Linked DNA regions of Homo sapiens: region 1 is linked to region 2. The links are contacts of gene promoters, found by promoter capture Hi-C in human tissues and cell types (Jung and others, 2019). All regions are on one chromosome and are shown on one strand. Each heading gives the region's core, a stretch centred on a gene start or on the middle of the fragment in contact. The rest is flanking DNA. Distances are from core to core; before and after follow the strand shown.

Region 1 (5,151 bases), core at 1,919-4,418, 410 kb before region 2:
TGGCTCACGCTGTAATTCCATCACTTTGGGAGGCCAAGGTGGGCAAATTGCTTGAGCTCAGGAGTTTGAGACCAGCCTGGGCAATGAAGTGAGATCCGGTCTCTACAAAAAATTTAAAAAATTAGCTGGGCATGGTAGAGCGCACCTATGGTCCTAGCTACACAGGAGGCTGAGGCAGGAGGATGGCTTGAGCCCAGGAGTCGTGTTCGTGCCACTGCACTCCAGCGTGGGTGACAGAGTGAGACCCTGTCTCAAAAAGAAAAGAAAAGAAAAGTCCCAGTAACCCCCTAAAGGTAGAAAAAGAGGAAAAGGGGAACAAAGAACAGATGGGACAAATAGCAGGTTGGTAGATTTAAACCTAACCATATCAGTAATTACATTAAGGGTAATTGGTTTGAACCAGCGGCTGGCTAACTATGGCCCACAGGCCAAATCTGACCTGCTGTCTATTTTTGTACAGCCCCATAAGCTAAGAATGGCTTTTACATATACATATATGTATATGTATATATACATGTATGTGTATGTATGTATGTATGTATGTATGTATGTATTTATTTATTTGGAGACAGAGTCTCTCTCTGTTGCCCAGGTTGGAGTGCAGTGGCACGATCTCAGCTTACTGCAACCTCTGCCTCCCAGGTTCAAGCAATTCTCCTGCCTCAGCCTCCCGAGTAGCTGGAACTACAGGCGCACACTGCCACGCCTGGCTAATTTTTTGTATTTTAGTAGAGATGGGGTTTCACCTTGTTGCCCAGGTAGGTCTAGAACCCCTGAGCTCAGGCAATCCGCCCGCATCGGCCTCCCAAAGTGCTAGGATTACAGGCATGAGCCACCACGCCCGGCCAGTTTTCACATTTTTAAATGGTTAAAATGAAATCAGAAGAACAGGCTGGGCGCAGTGGTTCACACCTATAATCCGAGCACTTTGGGAGGCCAAGGTGGGTGGATCGCTTGAGCCCAGGAATTGAGACTAGCCTGGGCAACATGGCGAAACCCTATCTCTACAAAAAGTTAGCCAGACTGGGTGGCACGTGCCTGTGGTTCCAGCTACTCAAGAGGCTGAGGTGGGAGGATTCCTTAAGCCTGGGAGGTTGAGGCTGCAGTGAGCCAAGATTGTACCACTGTACTCCAGCCTGGGCAACAGAGTGAGATATTGCCTCAAAAAAAAAAAAAAGGAATATTTTATGACACATGACTTATATAAAATTCAAATTTCAGTGTCAGTATCCATAAATAAAGTTTTATTGGAACACAGCCACACTCATTCATTTAATGTATCATCTACAACAGCTTCTATACTACAATGGAAGATTGAGTAGCTGGAACAAAGACCATATGATCAACAAAGTACAAAATATTTACTTAGGGCCAGAGCAGTGGCTCATGCCTGTAATCGCGGCACTTTGGGAGGCTGAGGCAGGAAGATCGCTTGAGGCCAGGAGTTCAAGACCAGCCTGGGCAACAAAGTAAGAACTCTCTACAAAAAAAAAAAAATGAAAATAATAAAAAATTAGCCAGGCACGTAGTCCTAGCTACTCAGTAGGCGGAGGCAGGAAGATCCCTTGAGCCCAGGAGTTTGAGGCTGTAGGGAGCTATAAACACACAGCACTCCAGCCTAGAGACAGAGCAAGATCCTGTCTTTAAAAAAATAAAAATAAAGATAAATATTTAAAAACATCTTTTTTTTTCTTTTTTTCTTTTCTTTTTTTTTTTTTTTTTTTGAGATGGAGTCTTGCTCTGTCGCCCAGGCTGGAATGCAGTGGGGCGATCTCGGCTCACTGCAAGCTCCGCCTCCCAGGTTCGCGCCATTCTCCTGCCTCAGCCTCCGGAGTAGCTGGGACTACAGGCACCCGCCACCGCACCCGGCTAATTTTTTGTATCTTTTAGTAGAGACAGGGTTTCACCATGTTAGCCAGGACGGTCTCGATCCTCTGACCTCGTGATCCGCCCACCTCGGCCTCCCAAAGTGCTGGGCTTACAGGCGTGAGCCACCGCGCCCGGCCTAAAAGCATCTTTACTTAGAGAAAACATAAATGTTTGAGGTGATGGATTTCCCAATTACCCTGATCCCAGCATTTCAGGATGCTGAGGTGGGAGGACTGCTTGAGCCCAAGAGTTTGAGACCAGCCTGGGCAACACAGTGAGACTTCGTCTCTACCAAAAATAAAAAAATTTAGCCGGGTGTGGCGTCGCACACCTGTGATCCCAGATACACAGGAGGCTAAAGTGGGAGGATCACTTGAGCCTGGGAGGTTGAGGCTGCAGTGACCTGTGATCACACTACTGCACTCCAGTCTGAGTGACAGAACAAGACTCCATCTCAAAAAAAAAAAAAAAAAATCACCTGTACTCCCAAAAATATGTACAACTATTACATATAAATAAAATTTAAAAGAAAAATTACTGGCCAGACACGGTGGCTCACACCTGTAATCCCAGCACTTTGGGAGTCTGAGGCGGGTGGATTGCCTGAGCTCCAGAGTTCAAGACCAGCCTGGGCAACATGGTGAAACCCCATCTCTACTAAAATACAAAAAATTAGCCAGGCGTGCTGGCGTGCGCTTGTAGTCCCAGCTACTTGGGAGGCTGAGGCAGGAGAATTGCTTGAACCTGGGAGGCAGAGGTTGCAGTGAGCTGAGATCGTGCTGTTGCACCACTGCACTCCAGCCTAGGCAACAGGTCAAAACTCCATCTCAAAAAAAAAAAAATTTTACTATCTGGCCCAATGCAGAAAAAATTGGCCAAACCTTGCTCCAAGGCCTAAGTATACACTGTTTATAAGAAACACACTTGGGGCTGGGCATGGTGGCTCATGCCTGTAATCCCAGCACTTTGGGAGGCAGAGGCAGGTGGATCACTTGAGGTCAGGAGTTTGAGACCAGCCTTGCCAACATGGTGAAACCCTGCCTCTACTAAAAATATAAAAATTAGCTGGGTGTGGTGGCATGAACCTGTAGTCCCAGCTGCTTGGGAGGCTGAGGCAGGAGAACCACCTGAACCCAGGAGGTGGAGGTTGCAGTGAGCTGAGATCACACCATTGCACTCCCCAATACTCACCACACACTTGGTCAGGTGTGGTGGCTCATAGCTGTAATCCCAGCACTTTGGGAGGCCAAGATGGGAGAATCACTTGAGCCCAGGAGTTGGAAACCTGCCTGGGCAACAAAGTGAGACCCTATCTCTATTTAAAAGAAAAGAAAAGGAATGCTCTTTAAATATAATAATCTAGATGGGCCGAGACTAAAAGAATGGGGAAAAGATATGCTATGCAAACATTAAGCCTCAGAAAGCCAGAGTGCCTATATTAGTATCAAAAAATGTTAACTTCAGAACACAGAATGTTACCAGGAATAAGGAGAGACATTATATAATGACATGGGTCAATTCACCTAGAGGACATAAGAGTCCTAAACATTTGTGCGCCTAATTACAAAGCTTCAACATGCATGAGGCAAAAATGGATAGAATTGAAGAGAAACGGATAAATTTCCTGCAATTACAGGGTGAGATTTCAAAACTCCTCTCAATAATTGATGGAACAAGTAGAAAATCAGTAAGGATAGAGAAGACTTGAATAACATGATCAACCTACTGGCCCCAATGGACCCTTATAGAACACTGCACCACCAACAGCAGAAACACATTCAGTGCAACTCCACATAGAACAGTTACCAGGACAGACCATATGCTGAGCTCTAAAGCAAGTCTCAATAAATTTAAAAGGATTAAAGTCCTCTAGAGAATGTTCTCTGACCACGATGGAGCTAAATTAGAAATCAATCATAGAAAGATCTCTGGAAAATCCCCAAATCCTGTCTTCTCCATCAATGCCTTGCTGCGTGACCTTGGAAGTGTGCTGCAGTTTCCTCACCTGTGAAGTTAGTACAATTGTAGGCCCTTCCTCACTGGGTTTTGTGAAGAGTGACTGAGTTCATCCGGCACACAGCAAGTGCTATGCAAGTGTTTTCTCTCATTGTCTTGGTGACACAGGACCGACCCGGGAGAATAGGCTCCCACCAGCCTGGCTGCAGGACCCCAGAGCAACCACTTGTCTTACCGTGGCCCCCTCTGTCCTCCCTCCTGGCAAGTAAGAATGGCCAGGGTCCCTGTAGACCATATAGATCTGAGGGGCCTGAAGGCAGAGGAGATGCTGAAAAGGGCCTCCCAGACCTCCCACCCTCACATTCCCAGCACGTAATAATGAAAACAGCAATGTCCTCCACAGAACACATGTGCAAAGCTATGCTAGGCACTGGGATGGGGATGGAGTGAGGGCTTGATAGAGAGACATGAATTAAACAGCCTCCTGAAAAATAAAACCAAAACCCCAAGACACAAAGACCCAGGGACTGACTCAACCTCTCCAGAAACCAAGTCTCTCCAAACCCATCTTACAGGTCAATGCTGCCATTCATGCAAAACAAAATTATTTGGCCAGGCACAGTGGCTCACGCCTGTATCCCAGCACTTTGGAAGGCCGAGGTGGGTGGATCATCTGAGGTCAGGAGTTCAAGACCAGCCTGGCCAACATGATGAAACCCCGTCTCTACTAAAAATACAAAAAATTAGCCAGACGTGGTGGCTGGCACCTGTAATCCCAGCTACTCGGGAGGCTGAGCCAGGAGAATCGCTTGAACCCGGAAGGTGGAGGTTGCAGTGAGCCGAGATCGTGCCACTGCACTCTAGCCTGGGCAACAAGAGCAAAACTCCATCTCAAAAATAAAAAAATAAAAACAAAACAACAACAACAAAAATTACTCAGTGCCTGGTACACACCATGCACCCTCTGGCCCCTGAGGACACAGTGTGGATGACTGGTGGTGGTGATGGGGCCACTCACTAAGGCAGCAGAGGGAACACAGACTGGGAGTCAGATTTGGGAGTAAAGACATGAGCTCTGTTTTGCACAAGGTGAGTTTGGAGATGCCTGTTGAGCTCCCAAGAGGAGCAATCCCAGGGGGCTGGACACATGGAGGGGTCTAGAGATGACTTCGGAAGTGTTAGTATGCGCATAGCATGGGAAGTCCAGCAGCAGGTGAGATGGCCCCTGACAAGGTGTATGGAACAGTGGTCTCTGGCAGGGAGGGCACCCTGGGAGGTGTTTGGTAAAGTGTGGGCCACTGGTGCTCAGCGTAGGACAGCCGGATA
Region 2 (5,129 bases), core at 277-2,776:
GCACGATCTCAGCTCATTGCAACCTTTGCCTCCCGGGTTCAAGTGTTTCTCTGCCTCAGCCTCCCGAGTAGCTGGGATTACAGGCACCTGCCACCACGCCTGGCTAATTTTTGTATTTTTAGTAGAGACGGTGTTTCACCATCTTGGCTAGGCTGGTCTTGAACTCCTGGCCTCAAGCAATCCATCTGCCTCGGCCTCCCAAAGTGCTGGGATTACAGGTGTGAGCCACTGCGCCCAGCCTTTTTTTTTTTTTTTTTTTTTTTTAATAATGGGGATGTTGATCTTTATCTCAGGATTGTTGAAGGATGACCAGAGCTAACCTGATACACCGTAAGTTTTTAGTATTTTTTAAGTAAATGAATGACTGTCCCTGAGAGGCTTCAATTCCTCCAGATTCACACTCACCTGTATCCTGGTAGTGTCTGTGATTCCGAGCACTGGTTTTCTCATGTGGCGACGTCCCACTGTATCCTGACATCACTTTATAACCAGATTTTCCTTTGAAGCCTAGCTTCACTCCCTGGGCCACCATTCCACCCATCGTGGCTGGAGAATCTGTGTCTGAAGATGATCCCACATCTGATTCTGACTCAGAATCTGTGACCCACTCAGAAAGTGCCTTCCACTCTAGGGCTGATCGCTGTATGGATAGTTCCTGAAGTTTTGTTAGAAATCCCAGCTCTGTCAAAGATCCCTGCTTGGATTTGGCTCCCTGGACTGGCGTTGTTTGCTTGTCTGACTGTTCAGGTGTCTCTTGGGACGTAGATTCAGTCGGGGCAGATGGCTCCCTTTTGGCTCCAGGTTTAGCCTGGGCCGCAGGTGTTGATTCAGCTTCTTGTTGAGCTGGAGGTGGCTCTCCTGGCCCAGGCCCTGGCTGGGCTACATGTCTTTGTCTCAATGCTGGCTCCTGTTGAGTTATAGATTCTTTTCCTAGCCCAGGTCCCTGCTGGGAGGCAGCTTCCTGTTGAGTGAGCAGCACCCTTTGGATGTAAGGTGATTGCTGTGGTGCGGGCTTCTGTGGGGCAAGAAATTCCTCTTGTGAAGCAGATTTTTGTTGGGCTCTAGGTTCCTTCTGGGATTCAGCATCATGTTGTGCAGGGGTCTCCTGCTGGGTGAGGGGTCTTTGGTTTGAAGCAGGCTTCTGTTGGGTATTGGATCCCTGCAGAGTCTTCGATTCTGGCTGGGCTATGGGTGTCTTTTCTGGCCCAGGCTCTAGCGGGGTTATAGGCCTCTGGTGTGGTTCAGGTTGCCAGTCTGACCTAGACACTGACTTAGAACCTGGCTCCATTGTTATTTCCCTCACGGGAGATATTGATCTTCCAGGTTCTATCCTTCTGGGCTCCCACCCAGCCCTCTCTCTTCACAGATCTCTCATTGATTCCTCATGATGGCACTTCCTCTTGGGTTTCACTCCATCCTAGCATCACTGGTCTTCCTTTTTAAGGCAGCTGGCAGTTGGCCGATCACAGCTGGCCCCCACTAAGTAATGAACTCTGTGCCTCTTTCTTTGGTGGGAGGATTAGGAATAGGAGGAGGCTATGTGCCTAGCACTCTCTTACAAGAAGGGAGGGGCTTGCTCTCTTGTGTCATAAATAGGGCCCCACCCCACCCACCACTCCGTTAAAATGTTTCTTCTCATAAGGCAAGCATCCCAATTTAGGCCTCCGTGTCATCTGGGATGACAGAAGCCAGATGCTGGATGAGTGTTCCTTTTTTCTCTTTCCTTCTAATGTCTGAGGAAAGCGTCATTCAGGGGGCAGTCTCTGTAGTTGTTGTAATAATTATTTCCCTCTTTGTTCATTCCTACAAATGGTTGCCAGATTATTTATTTATTTACTTATTGAGACAAGTCTTTCTCTGTTGCCCAGGCTGGAGTGCAGTGGTACCATTTTGGCTCACTGAAGCCTCCACCTCCTGGGTTCAAGCGACTCTCCTGCCTCAGCCTCCCAAGTAGCTGGGACTACAGGCGTGCACTGCCACGCCCGGCTAATTTTTATATTTTTAGTAGAGATGGGGTTTTGCCATGTTGGCCAGGCTGGTCTCAAACTCCTGACCTTAAGTGATCCACCCCCACCCCCCGCCCCCGGGCCTCCCAAAGTGCTGGGTTTACAGGTGTGAGCCACCACGCCCAGCCAGGTTGCTAGTTTAATTTCCTTATATTGTCATTCTGATCATTTAACTCTCATGTTAAAAACTAATGTCATGCCTTCCCACTTTTATAGCTTGAGGCCCTTCTGAATGGCATTTGAGATACTCCATGCCATCTCTCTAGCCCTGAACTATGATCCTGTACTAGATTGGAAACTCACAGAAGACAGTGACCACTGATGACAATGACTGATAATGATGGTGGTAATGGTGATGATAGTAGTCATAAATACCAAAGGCTGCCTAAGTGCTAAGAAACTGTGCCAAGTTTTTTTTTTAAACCTATATTATCTTTAATAAGACCGTGTCTGGTTCATTGGTATGCTTTTTTTTTTTTGTCCCACCTCGCTCTTACCTCAGAAAGATTTGTCGAATGAGTGAAAGATGAACAAGTAGGCCAATGGAGACAGAGTGAGGGTCTTGGTGGGGATAAGTATGTGTAGAATCTGGATTCAGTCTGCAGTGAATAGGGTAAAATGGGTCATCTGGTTGTGAATTGGCAGACCCCATTTGAAGGAAACAATTTTGATCTGTGACATTTAAAAATATTTATTGACTTCTGTTTGCTACTTTCCTGATTGCATTTAAGGTTAAATGACACTAGCTAGGAAGCTACAGTTTCCTGGAATCTTTCAGGTAATTAAGCCTAAGCCTGGGTAAGGGGAGGGCACAGGCTAAGACTGACGAGAGAAGAAGACACTAGAGAGAGCAACAAACAAAATGATCTTGAAAAACATGCTTTTTGAGAGCACTGGAATGATTTAGGGGTGGGTACAGTGGGAGAGTGAGGTGGGAGAAGAAGAGTGTCTGGTAGGTGTGCTCACTGTCTTCTTGGCTGAGAATGTTTAATTGGAAGAGTGGGCGCTCAGAGCTCCTACAAAGGCAGAGCAAAGCTTCTTAGCTGACATTGTTTGAGAAATTGCTGGCAGGCTCTGGAATGCTTGTTTGGCTTTCTGTGGTGCCTTTGGTGTCCTAGGGTGCAAATAAAGGGGAGAGGCTAGTGTTAAAACCATTTTTAACATTTCTTTTTTTTTTGGAGACGGAGTCTTGCTCTATTGCCCAGGCTGGAGTGCAGTGGCAGGATCTCAACTCACTGCAACCTCTGCCTCCCGGGTTCAAGTGATTCTCCTGCCTCAGCCTCCCAAGTAGCTGGGATTACAGGTGCCTGCCACCATGGCTGGCTAATTTTTGTATTTTAGTAGAGACAGGGTTTCACCATTTTGGCCAGGCTGGTCTGGAACTCCTGACGTCATGTGATCCACCCACCTCGGCCTCCCAAAGTGCTAGGATTACAGGCATGAGCCACCATGCCTGGCCTTCACATTTAATTTTTTTTTGAGATGGAGTCTCGTTCAGTTGCCCAGGCTGGAGTGCAGTGGTGCAATCTTGGCTCACTGCAACCACTGTCTCCCAGATTCAAGCGATTCTCCTGTCTCAGCCTCTCGAGTAGCTGGGATTACAGGCACCCACCATCATGCCTGGCTAATTTTTGTATTTTAGTAGAGATGGGGTTTCACCATGTTGGCCAGGCTGGTCTTGAACTCCTGACCTCAGGTGATCCACCCGCTTTTGCCTCCCAAAATGCTAGGATTACAGGTGTGAGCCACTGTGCCCAGCCAACATTTAATTTTTATGAGAGTTTTAAAAATTATAAAAATAAGACTCATCCAGTGGAAAAAAATTTTAAAATCCAGTAAAAAGTAAAAGGACTCCTCCCACCCCAGCCTCTACAACACATTTTCCAGGGCTAACCACTGTTAATAGTTTGCTACGTATTTTTCCATACCTTCTGGTATATAAATACAATGGTTTATTTTAAAAACAAAAATGAGATTATACTATACGTATTGCCTTAGTCGGCACCTTTAAGAAATCTGGCCGGGCATAGTGGCTTGTGCCTATAATCTCAGCACTTTGGGAGGCCGAGGTGGGCAGATTGCCTGAGCCCAGGAGTTAAAGACCAGCCTGAGCAACATGGCGAAATCCTATCTCTACAAAAATACAAAAATTAGCCAGGCATGGTGGCGTGTACCTGTGGTTCCAGTTGCTGGGGAGGCTGAGGCAGGAGGAATGTTTCAGCCCAGGAGGTGAGCCGTGATCATGCCACTGCACTCCAGCCTGGGTGACAGAGCAAGACCTTGTCTCAACTGCGCCCCTCCCTCTGCAAAAAAAACAACTGAATCTATTATTGCAAAGTATTATATATCTATAGAAGTTCATAGAAACCTATACATGCAATTCAATAAATAGTTATAAAGCAGATATTCATGAAACTACTACCTAGGCTTAGAAATAGAATATTGTGTCCGGGCACGGTGGCTCATGCCTGTAATCCCTGCACTTTGGGAGCCCGAGGCAGGCAGATCACCTGAGGTCAGGGGTTCGAGACCAGCCTGACCAACATGGAGAAATCCATCTCTACTAAAAATACAAAATTAGCTGGGTGTGGTGGCGCATCCCTGTAATCCCAGCTCCTCAGGAGGCTGAGGCAGGAGAATTGCTTCAACCCGGGAGGCGGAGGTTGCAGTGAGCCGAGATTGCGCTATTGCACTCCAGCCTGGGCAACAAGAGCAGAACTCCATCTCAAAAAAAAAAAAAAAAGAAAGAAAGAAAGAAATAGAATATTGCCAACAGCACCCCTCCTTTTCTGATCACTGCTTTCTCTCCCCCTCACAGTGATAATCTTGACTTTTATAGTAATTATTTACTTTCTTTTCTTTATTATTTACCACCTATGTGTATAGATTCCTAAATAATTTAGTTTATTTTTTCTCATTTTTAAACTTTATGTATATATTATGGTCTGAATGTTTATGTCTCTCCCCATTTTTTTTGTTTTTGTTTTTGAGATGGAGTCTCACTCTGTTGTCCAGGCTGGAGTGCAGTGGCGTGATCTTGGCTCACTGCAACCTCTGCCTCCCGGGTTCAAATAATTCTCCTGTCTCAGCCTCCTAAGTAGCTGGGATTACAGATGTGCACCA

The links. Contacts are between HindIII fragments. The study calls those that stand out against the background at their distance.
Region 1: a fragment that was not itself captured here is called in contact with the fragment with the promoter of LIPE in region 2 in 2 of the 25 tissues and cell types used here (H1 embryonic stem cells and liver).

The regions. Positions count from the first base shown.
Region 1 is chr19:42,011,704-42,016,854 of GRCh38, forward strand. The region is part of intron 15 of GRIK5 (glutamate ionotropic receptor kainate type subunit 5); the gene reads right to left. Among named protein-coding and RNA genes, the nearest start is that of ATP1A3, 20 kb to the left of the region's middle. The HindIII fragment of the contact is 6,690 bases long and covers 1-5,151 here.
Region 2 is chr19:42,425,862-42,430,990 of GRCh38, forward strand. It overlaps LIPE (lipase E, hormone sensitive type), which reads right to left and starts at 1,527. Exons shown (of 10, transcript NM_005357.4): 1 at 406-1,527. The coding sequence starts at 1,288. It overlaps CXCL17 (C-X-C motif chemokine ligand 17), which reads right to left. Exons shown (of 4, transcript NM_198477.3): 4 at 2,417-3,120. The coding sequence ends at 3,023. All of the region lies in intron 1 of LIPE-AS1 (LIPE antisense RNA 1), which reads left to right. The HindIII fragment of the contact is 15,228 bases long and covers 1-5,129 here.